Regions from separate parts of the Homo sapiens genome. Here all the other regions are linked to region 1. Evidence: promoter capture Hi-C in 16 types of primary human blood cells and fetal thymus (Javierre and others, 2016). All regions are on one chromosome and are shown on one strand. Each heading gives the region's core, a stretch centred on a gene start or on the middle of the fragment in contact. The rest is flanking DNA. Distances are from core to core; before and after follow the strand shown. Region 1 holds the start of SLC30A2 (solute carrier family 30 member 2). Region 2 overlaps DHDDS (dehydrodolichyl diphosphate synthase subunit). Region 3 has its middle 4.5 kb from the start of ZNF683.

Evidence for each region. The method cuts DNA at HindIII sites, captures the fragments that hold promoters and counts their contacts. A CHiCAGO score of 5 or more calls a contact.
Region 2: a contact is called between a fragment that was not itself captured here and the fragment with the promoter of SLC30A2 in region 1, in 1 of 17 cell types (M2 macrophages). The highest score is 5.8, in M2 macrophages.
Region 3: a contact is called between a fragment that was not itself captured here and the fragment with the promoter of SLC30A2 in region 1, in 1 of 17 cell types (M0 macrophages). The highest score is 5.2, in M0 macrophages.

Annotation. Positions count from the first base shown.
Region 1 is chr1:26,043,154-26,047,957 of GRCh38, reverse strand. SLC30A2 (solute carrier family 30 member 2) reads left to right here and starts at 1,840. Exons shown (of 8, transcript NM_001004434.3): 1 at 1,840-2,111; 2 at 2,741-2,961; 3 at 3,514-3,660; 4 at 4,407-4,560. The coding sequence starts at 2,062. RefSeq lists an enhancer at 2,241-2,809. The HindIII fragment of the contact is 10,541 bases long and covers 1-3,928 here.
Region 2 is chr1:26,448,787-26,453,590 of GRCh38, reverse strand. The region is part of intron 6 of DHDDS (dehydrodolichyl diphosphate synthase subunit); the gene reads right to left. Among named protein-coding and RNA genes, the nearest start is that of DHDDS-AS1, 16 kb to the left of the region's middle. The HindIII fragment of the contact is 666 bases long and covers 2,390-3,055 here.
Region 3 is chr1:26,374,855-26,379,658 of GRCh38, reverse strand. No RefSeq gene overlaps it. Among named protein-coding and RNA genes, the nearest start is that of ZNF683, 4.5 kb to the right of the region's middle. RefSeq lists an enhancer at 1,196-1,405 and a cis regulatory region at 728-1,621. The HindIII fragment of the contact is 2,591 bases long and covers 1,503-4,093 here.

The sequences.
Region 1 (4,804 bases), core at 591-3,090:
TTCAACAGCTGGTGACATATTTATTTCTTCTATACCAGTACCGTACTCTCCCCACTGGGATTATTTTAAGGCAAAACCCAGATGACATTTTATCCCTAAATACTTTAGATAAAGGTGTTCTTTGAAAAAAATCATAACCTCAGGACCAGCCTGGCCAACATGGTGAAACCCTGTCTGTACTAAAAATACAAAAATTAGCTTGGCATGGTCGTGGGCACCTGTAATCCCAGCTACTCAGGAAGCTGAGGCAGGAGAATCACTTGAATCCGGGAAGCAGAGATTGCAGTGAGCTGAGATTGCAGTCGAGCCTGGGCGACAGAGACAGAAATGAAACTCTGTCTCAAAAACAAACAAACAAAAAAACCACTATACATAAAAATGAACAATGATGCCACAATAGCACCAGAGAATTTTATAAATACAGATTCCCAGGCCCTGCCCCAGACCTACTGAATCCTGGAAATATTCAGGCTCCACACCCAGAGATTCTGGTTCGGTTGGTCTGATGCAGGGACCTGTAACCTGCGTTGTAACACCTTCTCCAGGTAATGCTGAGCCTGCTGGTGCTCAGAGTAGACAGACCTGGAGAAAACCAGGGTGTCTGAGGTTTTCCAGAAGAAAACCAGAGTCCAGAGAAGCAGAGAGGCACTCAGTGAGGACCCAAGCAGAGCGGGTGCACCTCACATCCTCACTCCTGGCACCCCGTCTCCTACAAGATGAGAGACTGAAAGAGCCCCTTCCTGTCCCCAGTGGTGTGGGCAAGAGGCCTGCACCTCTGACTCTTGGCTCTGTGAAAGGCCATACCCACCAAGCCTATGGTCCTAGCGACAAAGGGTGCTGGGGAGACGAATTGACCAGACAGGGAGGTCTCCAGCAGCTTCTTTCTACACAGAGGGCACCTGTCAGAGGCCAGCGTGGGGGCCACAGGCTCCCCAATCCCCAAGAACCGCCAGGGAAGGAGGCTGCTTCAAGTGGGTGGGGCACCAAGCTGGCCAGGAAGGACAGGGCTTCTCCCAGCGGTACCAACACGGTGGCACCTCCGGCCTGCATCTCCCAGGCTTGCTTGTCAGGCTTCCTGGGGCTCCCAGGAGCCGCTGCGGGGGAGGGGAGAAGGGGTGGCAGCAGTGGCAGTGGTCGTCTCTGCTCCGATGGTGACTGCCGATGACACTGTTCTCTGTGCGGGTGGAGACAAAGCCGGCCACTCCAGATTCTCCTGCGCGCAGGAGAGGAGGAGCTGGCGCTGCTTCAGTGGCGAGGATGGGTCGATCAGTCCCAGCCGGTCCTAGGGAGAGACACTGCCCCAGCCTGAGGGCGGCGCAGCCCACCCCACCCCAGGACCCTCCTAGCAGGAGGACAGGAACGCAAGCCGACCTCGGGGGGTCTCCGGCCTGAGAGGGGAACATGATCAAGCCCAGGGCAGCCGCCAGTCGGAGGGGGCAGACGCGGCCCCAGTAGCCTCTGGAGACCCTCTTCCGAGGCAAGGAGCCACATTCCTGCCGTCGGGACCACCAAAGCGGATTTCTACAAACTAAAGTCGAGAACTTTTCGGCGGCGAGGCGGCGCACCCCGCGCGGGAGAGGGGGCGCAGGCGTCACCCCGTCCTCACTCAGCAACACCCGGCGCCGCGCCGGGCGAAGGCTGGCAAACTTCTCGCGGCCGGCAGGTGGGCTCCGCGGGCCCCATGGGCGCAGGCACAGGTGTGCGGGGCCACAGCCGGGCCTTTTGCAGCCGGCGACCGCCCCCCCTTCCCCGCGGGCTTTTGCACACGACGCGCCGACGGCAGCTTCACACGGGTTGGCGAGGGCCGGATAAAGCCGGCGGCCGCGGGGCGCAGCGGCTGACCCGAGACACGGGAGCGCTTGGCACGCGGAGCCAGAGCCGGAGCTGCAGCCGCAGCGGGAGCCGGGGGAGCTCAGGGGCCGCAGGAGCCGGGCCGGAGTGAGCGCACCTCGCGGGGCCCTCGGGGCAGGTGGGTGAGCGCCACCCGGAGTCCCGCGCGCAACTTTCAGGGCGCACTCGGCGGGGCGGCTGCGCGGCTGCCGGGACTCGGCGCGGGACTGCATGGAGGCCAAGGAGAAGCAGCATCTGTTGGACGCCAGGCCGGCAATCCGGTAAGGCGAGAGCCTGGGGACGGGCGGGAATTTTGGCGGCAGCCGACGCACCTCCGCATTTGCCATCCTAGCAGTGGTTGGTTTTGGCTGCGGCTTGAGCTGGGACCATGCAGGAGGGGTGGGGTGAGGTGAGGGAACGAAGATAATGGGCTGTGGCCCAAGGACCGTCTCTCCCTTGGGGCGCAGCCCAGATTCTGACCCCTGCCCGCGGGGGGCCTGGGGCCGGGGGATTGGCGGTTCCCATGCCTGGAGTCCCGCCCCGCCCAGCACTTTGCCCCAGGCAGCCCCGCCCCGGGGAGGCCCTGTGTCCCAAGTGCGCTGGAGGGGGCCTGCTGTTCTCCCAGAGCCTGCGCTCTGTTCCTTCCCCGCGCTCCACTGGACAGCACGCCCCTTGGCCGGTTCCCAGGGTCTTCACCTCCTCTGGCCTCTGAAGGGCCCCGGGCCCCAGGACTCCCATTCCCCTATCATCCCCGTCTGAATACAGGCTTCTCACCTCTGGTTTGTCGAGCTCGGAGCGTCCTTAGCTATTTTTCCCAGTGGACACAAGGCCTCACAGAGAAATGGGACTAGAGTCGGCCCTCCTTACCTCATCTCAGAGCTGAGCGTTCCCTCTCTTCCCCTCTGGCCAGGTCATACACGGGATCTCTGTGGCAGGAAGGGGCTGGCTGGATTCCTCTGCCCCGACCTGGCCTGGACTTGCAGGCCATTGAGCTGGCTGCCCAGAGCAACCATCACTGCCATGCTCAGAAGGGTCCTGACAGTCACTGTGACCCCAAGAAGGGGAAGGCCCAGCGCCAGCTGTATGTAGCCTCTGCCATCTGCCTGTTGTTCATGATCGGAGAAGTCGTTGGTAAGCACTTTTGGGCTAATTAAATGAAGTTGGTGCATGGATAGACTGGATGTTCCCAGCAATACTGACACTAAAAGCCCCAATTACTGAACACACACTACAGTAAGCCTTTATATACACATTATCTGATGCAGGTCTAACAACAACCTGTGTTCTCACATGGGTGACGTTATTCTCCTTACTTTACAGATGATGAAACTGAGGCATGTTCAGGTGAAGTAACTTGCCAAAGATCACGCACAACTCGTAGCTAAGGGAAGGCCTGAATTCCTAGAAGGGAAGAGCATTTACTGAGTATCTGCTATGTTTTCCAGTCCCTATTTGAACTTGATGTGCACATTCACCCTCTAAGTAGATATTGGTGGCCCATTTCACAGAGAGTGGAAGTTGAGGCTCAGAGAGAGTAGGTCACTTGTCACGGTGGTACAGCTCATGGGTAGAGAGATCTTGAGCCCAGAATGTCCTCTTCCAGAGCCTGTGGTCTCCCTGCTGCACACACAGTCTTGGGAGCCAGCTCTCTGGGGGAGCTGATAAGGACCCTCCACCCTGCAGGTGGGTACCTGGCACACAGCTTGGCTGTCATGACTGACGCAGCACACCTGCTCACTGACTTTGCCAGCATGCTCATCAGCCTCTTCTCCCTCTGGATGTCCTCCCGGCCAGCCACCAAGACCATGAACTTTGGCTGGCAGAGAGCTGGTGAGGATCGCGGTTTGGCTGGAGATGGGGTTGAGAGAGAGGGTGGGTTAGAACAGGGGTTCTTAGGTGGCTGTAATGGGTGGATCCCCCCTTCCTCCCCTGAGTGAGGCCAGGAGGGTGATCTGGATGGGGGAAGAGGATGTCAACCATGGCCTCTGTCCTCTGGGAAATCCTAGTCTGATGGGGGAGCCCTGGTCCCAGTCATCCAGGAGCTCTCAGTCTGCAGGGAAGCAAAGTTGACCTTCCTAAGAAGTGCAGTAGCCAAGCTTCAAGAACAAATGACAATGGCATTAACACTGCACATAACTCTGTGGATCAGCTCTGGGGGGAGGGGAAGGCCAGCAAAGGCTGCTGGAAGATATAGGCTTTAACCTCTCTTCCGTTCACCCTGGACTGCATCGTCACCTTCCTCTTTGTGGGAGATGGCCCAGCCTGTCTTCCCCAGAAGCCTCAGTTTACTAGCTGAACAAAAGGCACATACTTTAATAAGTCAGCTTCTTTACATGTACAACCAAAAAGGTGGACTCAGATGATGACTTATTAGTTCCTTCTAGCTCTTACATTCCTAGATATATGAGGGGTGGGGTAAGGGGCAGCCATACCGGCCATACCTTCAGCAGAGCCCAGTGGGACCCAGGCCCTGACTTTGTGTGGGAGGTGGGTGGGGAGGATCCTGAAGGAAGGGGGAAGACTCCTTAGCTCCAGGCCCATGCCAAGGTGGGTGTTGGGGTTGGGTTCTTCCTCAGAGATCTTGGGAGCCCTGGTCTCTGTACTGTCCATCTGGGTCGTGACGGGGGTACTGGTGTACCTGGCTGTGGAGCGGCTGATCTCTGGGGACTATGAAATTGACGGGGGGACCATGCTGATCACGTCGGGCTGCGCTGTGGCTGTGAACATCATGTGAGTGGGGCCCCAGTTTCCCTCGTCTCCCCTCCTCCTCCCGCCTCTCACACCCACACCTATGTCTGCTTTGCGGAAAGAGACTGTGCCACTTTCCAGCATACGCTACAGGGACAGAACTTCCCTAATGGTCTGAGCTCTGGCACCTGGAACACCTGGGTCCTACCTTAGGCCTAGGCCAAGAACACTGGGAGCTGTAAATCGGAGTCTTCATCCACTCTACCCACTCCCTGATACATGTCAG
Region 2 (4,804 bases), core at 1,473-3,972, 400 kb before region 1:
GAGACGAGATTTTACCATTTTGCCCAGGCTGGTCTCGAACTTATGAGCTCAAGCGATCCAACCTGCCTCAGCCACCTAAAGTGCTGGATTACAGGTATGAGCCACTGCACCTGGTCAGAACAGTTTACATTTAAAAAATCTTGGCAAGAATAAGGTGAAATGAGCACTTTCAAACTCAGATCCTGAGGAAACAATAAAAAATGCAGGCAAGTTCAGTCAAAGATTTAATTGTGGCATTATTTGTAATAATGAAATATTAAACTGCCTATATACCCAACAAATAGAAGACTGGTTAAAGAAATTAACACAAGATATATTTTACAGCCATTATAAATAATGATATGAAGAATTATTAAAAACACGGGTCATGAAAAGTACTCGTAACATTGAATGATAAAAGCATGATTCAGAGTGTAAACTATTCATTATGTGATTTCATGTGTTATAAATATTTATGTCAAAAGTGAGTGTGTGTGTGTGTGTGTGTGTGTGTGTGTTTCAGACAGGGTTTCACTCTGTTGTTCAGGCTAGAGAGCAATGGCGCAACCATAGCTCATTGCAGCCTCGACCTGCTAGGCTCAAGTAATCCTCCTCACTCAGCCTCCCAAGTAGCTACAGGTGTGTGCCAGCACACCCAGCTAACTGTTTTATTTTTGTAGAGACAGGGTCTTGCCGTGTTGCCAGGGCTGGTCTCAAACTCCAGGGCTCAAGCGATTTTCCTGCCTCAGCCTCCCAAAGTCCTGGGATTACAGGCATAAGTCACCATGTCCATCTAATTTTTTTCTTTTTTACTGCCTTATTGTTCATTTCAGCTTTGCTATGAGGAAGTCAATATGCCACAGTGAATGAGAACACAGGCTCTGAAGCCAGGTTGAAATCTTGGCCCCCAGGTTTGCCAACTATGTGAACTTGCACAAGTTACTTTTCCTCTCCATGTCTCAGTATTCTCATCTTTAAAATGGGCATAAAAACAGTATCTACCTTATAGGGTCTAAGGATAAATGTATGTGGAATACTTAATGCTTGGAACAGAGTAAATGCTCAGTAAGTGTTAGCAATTACTATTAACACTATTGTTTTATAAGAAAGACAGAGGCCTACAGGGAATCAAGTAGCCCGTTCAAGGTAACACGGTGGAATAGAATTTATTAACTATCCTTTGGTCTCAATCTACTTCCTTCTTCTATAATTTCCAGACTCACAAAACAATCTATTAATTTAACTGCTAAAAAAATACATATATACCTCGGTCAGGTGCCGTGGTTCAAACCTGTAATCCCAGCACTTTGGGAGGCCAAGGCAGGAGGATCACTTGAGCCCAGGAGTTTGAGACCAGCCTGGACAACATGGCAAGACCCTGTCTCTACAAAGTCAAAAAATTAGCCAGATGTGGTAGCAGTATCTGTGGTCCCAGATACTCAGGAAGCTGAGGTGGAAGGATCTCTTGAGCCCAGGAGGTCTAGGCTGCAGTGAGCCATGTTCATACCACTGCACTTCAGCCTCAGCAACAGAGTGAAACCCTGTCTCAAAAACAAAACGAAACAGGCCAGGTGCTATGGCTCACACCTATAATCCCAGGACTTTGGGAGGCCAAGGTGGGCAGATCACTTGAGGTCAGGAGTTCGAGATCAGCCTGGTCAACATGGTGAAATCCCATCTCTACTAAATATACAAAAAATAGCCGGGTGTGATCCCAGCACTTTGGGAGGCCGAGGCAGGCAGATCACGAGGTCAGGAGATCGAGACCATCCTGGCTAACATGGTGAAACCCGTCTCTACTAAAAATATAAAAAAATTAGCCAGGCGGGGTGGCAGGCGCCTGTAGTCCCAGTTACTCAGGAGGCTGAGGCAGGAGAATGGCGTGAACCCGGGAGGCAGAGGTTGTAGTGAGCTGAGATTGTGCCACTGCACTCCAGCCTGGGCGACAGAGCGAGACTCTGTCTCAAAAAAAAAAAAAAAGAAAAAAAAATAGCCGGGTGTGGTGGTGTGCACCTATAATCCTGGCTACTCAGGAGGCTGAAGCACGAAAACTGCTTGAACCTATAAGGTGGAGGTTGCAGTGAGTTGAGAGCGTGCCACTGCACTTCACCCTGGGCAACAGAGCAAGACTCCATCTCAGAAAAACAAAAAAACAAAAATACACACACACACACACACACACACACACACACACACACACACACACATCTACATACATACCCTGGAAGAAAGAAAAATGAGGAGTTGGATGGTGATAGTGAGAAATCAGGAAAATTCCAGCTATTAGAAGCATAGGACCTAATTGTAATTAACGCACTGACTTTGTTATAAATGCAGGTTTGTCTAAATTCGAATAATATAAAGTGTAACGCCTCAGGCCCTGATTAGCCCAGTCTGAGCACACCAAGCTTCAGGAGTTGGTGGGTTGAGACATTGGCCTCCTGACCCTGGTGATACTGCCCAACCCACACCCTGTCTGCATAACTAACCCCACAGAGGCAAGTTACTAAACCATGCAGGACAGAGAAGGATATGGAAAAACTTGCTGGACAAGAAGCAGGAGATAAGGTAGTGGTTACTGTAATGTGGTATGAGGGTAAAGCATGCTGGACTAGGAGTCAAGATCAGAGTCCTAGGCATAATGCATATTAGATCTGCTTGTCAAATGGCTTTCTTTCATTCTAGTGTCAACCCTTGTGCCTTAATATTTATTTCATACATACAAGAATATTTGAAACATATTCATTATAAAGCACAAAAATATAATGAACTACGAAAGTACCTCCAAACTAAGAATTTTATTGAAAACATGCTTCTATTTCTATACCCCTTTTCTGTCTCATCTTCCTGCCTGCTCTCTACCTCTGCTAACTCCACCAGTCTCTTAATTGTTTTAACAACAGCTGATTTTCACTCTACATCTTAATTGACCTCTCTACAGCATTTGACACCATTGTTTCCATGGGTGCCCTACCCCTTCCCAACTTGCACCAACAAACTCCCTCTTTTCTTGGCTTATGTAATGCTGGCTGCCCTGGTTTTCTTCCTGCTTTTCTGTGTTTTTGCTTATAAAGCTTATTCTCCTCTACCCAGCCAGTAAAGGGTAGAGTTCCTCAAAAATGCCATCTTAGGCTCTTTCTTCTTCTCACTCTACACTCCTTAACAGGCAGGGCTGAGTGGCTCACACCTGTAATCTCAGCATTTTGGGAGGCCAGGGCAAGAAGACCACTTGAGGCCAGGAGTTCAAGACCATCCTGGGCAACAAAGTCAGACCCTGTTTTTACAAAAAATAAATATAAAAAGTTAGCTGGGTAGGTGGTGCACGTCTGTAGTACTGGGTACTTGAGAGGCTCCTTTGAGACCAGGAGTTCCAAGCTTCAGTGAGCTTTGATTGCCCCACTGCACTCCAGCCCAGGAGACAGTGTGAGACCATCTCTAAATAGATAAATACACAGATAGACAGACAGACTCTCCTTAGCTTTCTCATCCCCTCTTTGCTCAAGTTAACCTATACACAGATGGCTTCCATACTGGCGACAGAGATAAACCCTGTCTGAACTGTTGACCTGACATCTCTGTCTGACTGTTGACCTGACTATACCAATCCCTCGCTGAACTGTTGACCTGACATCTCTGTTCAACATGTACAGGATATCCAAAACCAAACTGCTGACCCTTTTCAACTGGATTTTCTCTCAGGGTTACCTAGCATGGTGAAGGGCACCACTATCCACTGTAACGTAAGTCTAAAACCGCCGGGCGCGGTGGCTCACGCCTGTAATCCCAGCACTTTGGGAGGCCGAGGTGGGCGGATTACCTGAGGTGGGGAGTTTGAGACCAGCCTGGCCAACATAGTGAAACCCCGTCTCTACTAAAAATACAAAAATTAGCTGGGCATGGTGGCATGCCCCTGTAATCCCAGCTACTCAGGAGGCTGAGGCAGAAGAATCGCTTGAGCCCAGGAGGCGGAGGTTGCAGTGAGCCGAGATTGTACCATTGCATTCCAGCCTGGGCAAGAGTGAGACTCTGTCTCCAAAAAAAGAATTAGCTGAGCATGGTGGCACACACCTGTAGTCCCAGCTACTTGGAAGGCTGAAGTGGGAGGACTGCTTGGGCCCGGGAGGCACAGACTACAGTGGGCCGAGATCACACCACTGCACGCCAGCCTGGGCGATAGAGTGAGTCCCTGTCTCAAAATAAAAATAAAAATGGGCCAGGAGTGATGGCTCATGCCTGGAATCTCAGCACTTTGGGAGGCTGAGGCAGACAGATCACTTGAGGTTGGGAGTTCAAGACCAGCCTCGCCAACATGGTGAAACCCCGTCTCTACTAAAAAATACAAAAAATTAGCTGGGCACGGTGGTGGGCGCCTGTAATCCCAGCTACTTGGGAAGCTGAGGTGGAAGAATTGCTGGAACCTGGGAAGCGGAGGTTGCAGTGAGCCAAGATCTCGCCATTGCACTCCAGCCTGGAGACAGAGCGAGACTCCATCTCAAAAAAATAAATAAAATAAAAAATAAAAATAAATAAATAAAAATAAAATATTTGTTGAATGAATGAACTATGTGACAGAGAAATGTCACCCAGCTGTTAGGAAGGAGAGGCATTCATAAAATAGCCTCAAAAACTGTCTCCTCTCCTTTTTATCTAATTCTATTCTCACCAAGTAACTTTTTGATTTTTAATCTAGTTTCCTAGGTCAATCGAATCGGGAAGGGAACCAGAAAAATTCCTGCTTCCCAAGATCCCACATAATAGAGGTAAAGGATAAGAACCCTAAAATCAAACAGCTTTAGATATGAGTCCCAGCTCTGGCACTTACTAG
Region 3 (4,804 bases), core at 1,549-4,048, 330 kb before region 1:
TGTTGGAAGCTTGAAACCAAGACTGAGTGTCAGGAAACAATTTTATCATACTTATTCTTGGATCACTTTATGTTAACTACATGGCCACTGTAGGCATTTGAGTTGATACTACCTGGTATACCCTTGCTGAGTCTTGTCTGCTCATCCATAAAATGGAGACATTAAAAATTCCTACCTTGGAGAGTTTTTTTTTTTTTTTTTTTTTTTTTTTGAGATAAAGTTTCACTCTGTTGCCCAGGCTGGAGTGCAGTGGCAGGCACAATCATGGCTCACTACAGCCTTGACCTCCAGGGCTCAAGCAATTCTCCTGCCTCAGCCTCCCAGGTAGCTGGAACTACAGGCCCATGCCATCATGCCTAGTTATTTTTTGTAGGGAAGGGGGTCTTGCTATGTTGCCCGGGCTGGTCTCAAACTCCTGGGCTCAAGCTATCCTCCCACCTTGGCCTCTCAAATTGTTTGGACTACAGGTGTGAGCCGCCATGCCTGGCCAACTTGGAGAATTTTGAGGACGATTAAATAAGATGATCATAAAGAGATTTGGCATGTAGGAGGCATTGAGTAAATTTACCTCCTGCTTTTTCCTGGCTGCATAGTATTCTGATGCATGGATGTACATAATATGTAGCTTTCCTCTAATGGTAGACATATAGGTGGACTTTAATTTTGCCCCGTTCCACACCAGGCTGGAAAGGACATACATGTACATGGTGGGCAGTTTTGCACAGTGGCTCAGATTACATTAGCTCTGCTGGATTTGAATCCAAGCAAGGTGACCTCTTGTCTCCTATTCTCTTGGAATGGTTGAGGATAAGTGGCATGACCTTGGATATCATTTGAAGATGCATCTGCAATTTTACCCACAGAAGGATTGGAAGGTCACAGATGGGTGCAGGGGAAGACGCAAGAGTGTCTGTAGGCCCCTTCTGCAAATGTAAGAGCAGGCACGCCTTAACTCAAGATCTCTTCCCCACCTTGGGGTGTGAAGCCAAGGGCCAACTCAAATGCATCTGACAGACTGACAGCTGGGCTGTCTGGGGAGATAAGCATGTGGGTGTCAGGCAGAGGGAGGGAGGTGTCAACCACAGAGCAGAGCCAGGCAAGAGCACTGTCAGCCCCACCCTCAGCTCTGCCTGTGGAGGCACACCCTACAGCTGCTTAACCTCTAAGCCAGTGACGTCCCAGATCCCTTCCTGACCTGGGGTCCTTACCTGGTGCCTCTCAAAAGTGTCCATGTGACAGAGGTCCTGGACCCATGTGCTGAGCTGACTGGGAAGTCAGCTGGCTGGCCTCAAGGTTGGAGGTGGCAATGGATATGGGTTGAAGAAGTTTTTAAGGTTTTCAGGGAGGAAGTGGGGCTTCTGGCTGTGGTTCCGTTGTCTCCCTTTCTTGGTGCATGAGTCAGCCAACCCCACCCCCAGTTCTACTTTGCTCCTCCAGCCCCTACCCTCCTAATAATAAGCTCAGATGTACATTACTTTCCATTTCACAACATCCAGCAAGCTTCTTGATAGCCGGAATGTAATTCCAAGGTCTGAGTCATATTTCTATGGGCTGTATTCCCAGAAAATAGTCCAATGCCTGACACATAGCTGGTAATTAATAAATATGTGAATTACTTTGGGAGGCTGTTTGAGGGCAGGAGTTTGAGACTAGCCTGGTCAGCACAGCCAGACCCTGTCTCTACCAAAATACAACAAGAAAGAAAGAAAGAAAGAAAGAAAGAAAGAAAGAAAGAAAGAAAGAAAGAAAGAAAGAAAGGAAGGAAGAAAGAAAAGGCAAATAAATATGTGAATGAATGACGTTCTTGCAGGGTACCAGATGCTAATTCTGCAGCTCGTTTCAAGATGGCCTCTGTTTGTCTTAATTTTTCTGGGAGCCCCTTCTACCAAACATATTTGTGGCACTTTTTACTTCTTCAAATGCCTGGAAAGTCTTCCCTAAGCTCTCCCTCACCTCTGGGACTTACAACCTCAACTTGGGTCATGTGTTTCTTTTAAAATTGTATATATTTAAGATCTACAACATGATGTTTTGATACACATATGCTCAGTAAAGTGATTACTACAGTCAAGCAATTTAACACATCCATCACCTCACAGTTACCTTTTGTGTGTGTGTGCGGTAAAAGTACCTAAAATTACTTTTAGCAAATGTCTACTATATAATATTACTAACTATAATCCTCATGCTGTATGTTACAGCTCTAGACTTATTCATTCTAAGTAACTGCAACTTTGTACCCTTTGACCTTCATCTCCCATTTCCCTTACACCCCAGGCCCCTGCCCCTGGTAAAGACCTTTCTACTCTCTGTTTCTATGCTTTCCACTTTGGGGTCATGTGGTGTTTTTTGGTTTTTTTTTTTTGAGACTGAGTTTTGCTCTTGTCTCCCAGGCTGGAGTGCAATGGCACGATCTCAGCTCACTGCAACCTCCGCCTCCTAGGTTCAAGCGATTCTCCTGCCTCAACCTCTCAAGTAGCTGGGATTACAGGCACCCACCACCATGCCCGGCTAATTTTCGTATTTTTAGTAGAGACAAAGTTTCACCATGTTGGCCAGGCTGGTCTTGAACTCCTGACCTCAGGTGATCCACCCGCCTCGGCCTCCCAAAGTGCTGGGATTACAGGCATGAGCCACGCCCAGCCAGGTCATCTGATCTTAAGTGAGTCATTTTCCTTATCTGAGTGTCAGTTTTCTTGCCTCTAAAATGGGAATAATGGCATTCATCTCCCAGAGTCACTCTGCTGATCCAGTGAGACAAAGCGTGTGGAATGGCTTTGCATGGTTCCTGGCATATAATGAGGGCTCCCATGCCAAGAGCTATTATTATTGTGGTGTGTGGATGGGGTAGGAGAAGACTGCATTGAATGAGAGCAATGATCCCCAACCAGGGAAGGGTCAATAAATAAAGCAAGAAAACTAAATGTAGTTAATCTCTCCAATTGTGCTGCCCAAATTTCGATCTTCCAAAATGGGTCAGGAATAACCATCAAAATTTTAACACTTTTAAGAAGCTGACTTGCAGATGCTTGCCTAACTAGGTAAAGGGTAATGTACAATATAGTCATCCACATTGGTCAAGTGCTTGCTTTGGGCCAGGCACCATCCTAAGGGCTTTACATGGATTATCTTGAGGAAACCTGGAAATAATTCTATGAGGCAAGTGCTATTATTATCTCCATTTGACAGATGAGGAAAGATGCACAGAGAGGTTAAGTGATTTGCCATAAGTTTACCCAGTTGGGATTAAATCCAGCAGAGCTCGTATTCTTAACCATTCCGCATACTGACTCTGTCTGGAGGTCTTTTCCAGCCTTGTGTAGAAAGGGGAAAATTGGATCCCACCCGTATGTCCACCAACAGGGGAAGGCTACATATTAAGCACAACCCTGCAATGGAACATTATATAGTCAGGAAAAAGCAGGAGGCAGATAGGTATGTTCAGGGCATGAAATGATGCCCACAATGGATTATTAGAAAACCCAGAAGAGACTGGGCATGGTGGCTCCCAAAGTGTAATCCAGCACTTTGGGAGGCCAAGGTGGGTGGATCACTTGAGGTCAGGAGTTTGAGACCAGCCTGGCCAATGTGGTGAAACCCCGTCTCTACTAAAAATACAAAAAAATTAACTGGGCTTGGTGGCGCATGCCTGTAGTCCCAGCTTGAACAGGAGAATTGCTTGAACCCAGGAGGCAGAGGTTGCTAGTGAGCCAAGATCACACCACTGTACTCCAACCTGGGAGGCAGAGTCAGATTCTGTCTCAAAAAAAAAAAAAAAGAAAAGAAAAGAAAAGAAAACCCGGAAGAGCAATGTGCATCAATATATTCCCATGTTTGTATAAAACACAATTTAGCCTTTCAGCCCCTATGCTCAGGCCCACTCCAACACTGTGGAGTGTACTTTATTTTCAATAAATCCCTTCATTTCTTCGTTGCTTTGTTTCTGCTTTTTGTCCAATTCTTTGTTCAAGATGCCAAGAACCTGGACACCCCCCACCAGTGACATATTTTGGCCAGCCAGCCCGGAGGAAGGGCCGCTCAGGGAAAGAGAGCCCAGAAACCTGGCATACCAGCAAAAGGAGGCCATCAAGCTTCAGATGATCATGCAACAAAGGCTCCAGCCAGTCCAGGTGAAGACACCACCCCTGGCCATCAAGAAGCTACCCTGCCTCCACTAGACAGAACAAGGTGAGGGTTCCATGATCCCCAATAAGTAGGGACTACGCCCCATGCCAGCATGAAGCAGTCCCAGGAAAAAGACCATCGGTCCCTCTGCCTCCCGTGAAGATTTACGGGGACCACAATCACATCTCTTAGCGGGGAGATGAGGCAGGAAAATAGGGGCTGGAGGCAGGAAACATAAGGCCAATTCACACTTCAGCTCTGACAGGAAATAGCTTCTCCCTGAGTACATGACATTGTAACTTTACTTCATTCTCTTCATTTACATAGGGCGTACCACAAGCAGAAGGTATTTAAACTCTCAAAAACTCTGTAATGGGGCCTTTGAGCCCCTATGCTCAGGCCTGCTCCCACACTGCAGAGTGTACTTTCATTTTCAATAAGTCACTTCATTCCTTAGGAAAAAAAAAAGCAATTAAAAAAATCAATTTACCTGTTTGTTGGTTCATAGAAAAATGTCTGGAAGGGTAAACACTAAACAATTCACATTGACCACTGGGAAATTGCGAAGGAGGAGGAGCTTCCATTTTTCGTTTTTACATTTTCTGTTGTTTGAAATGTTTACCACTAGTATGTATTATTTTGCAACTAACGAAAGGAAGAAGAAAGTGTGCAGTGAGCA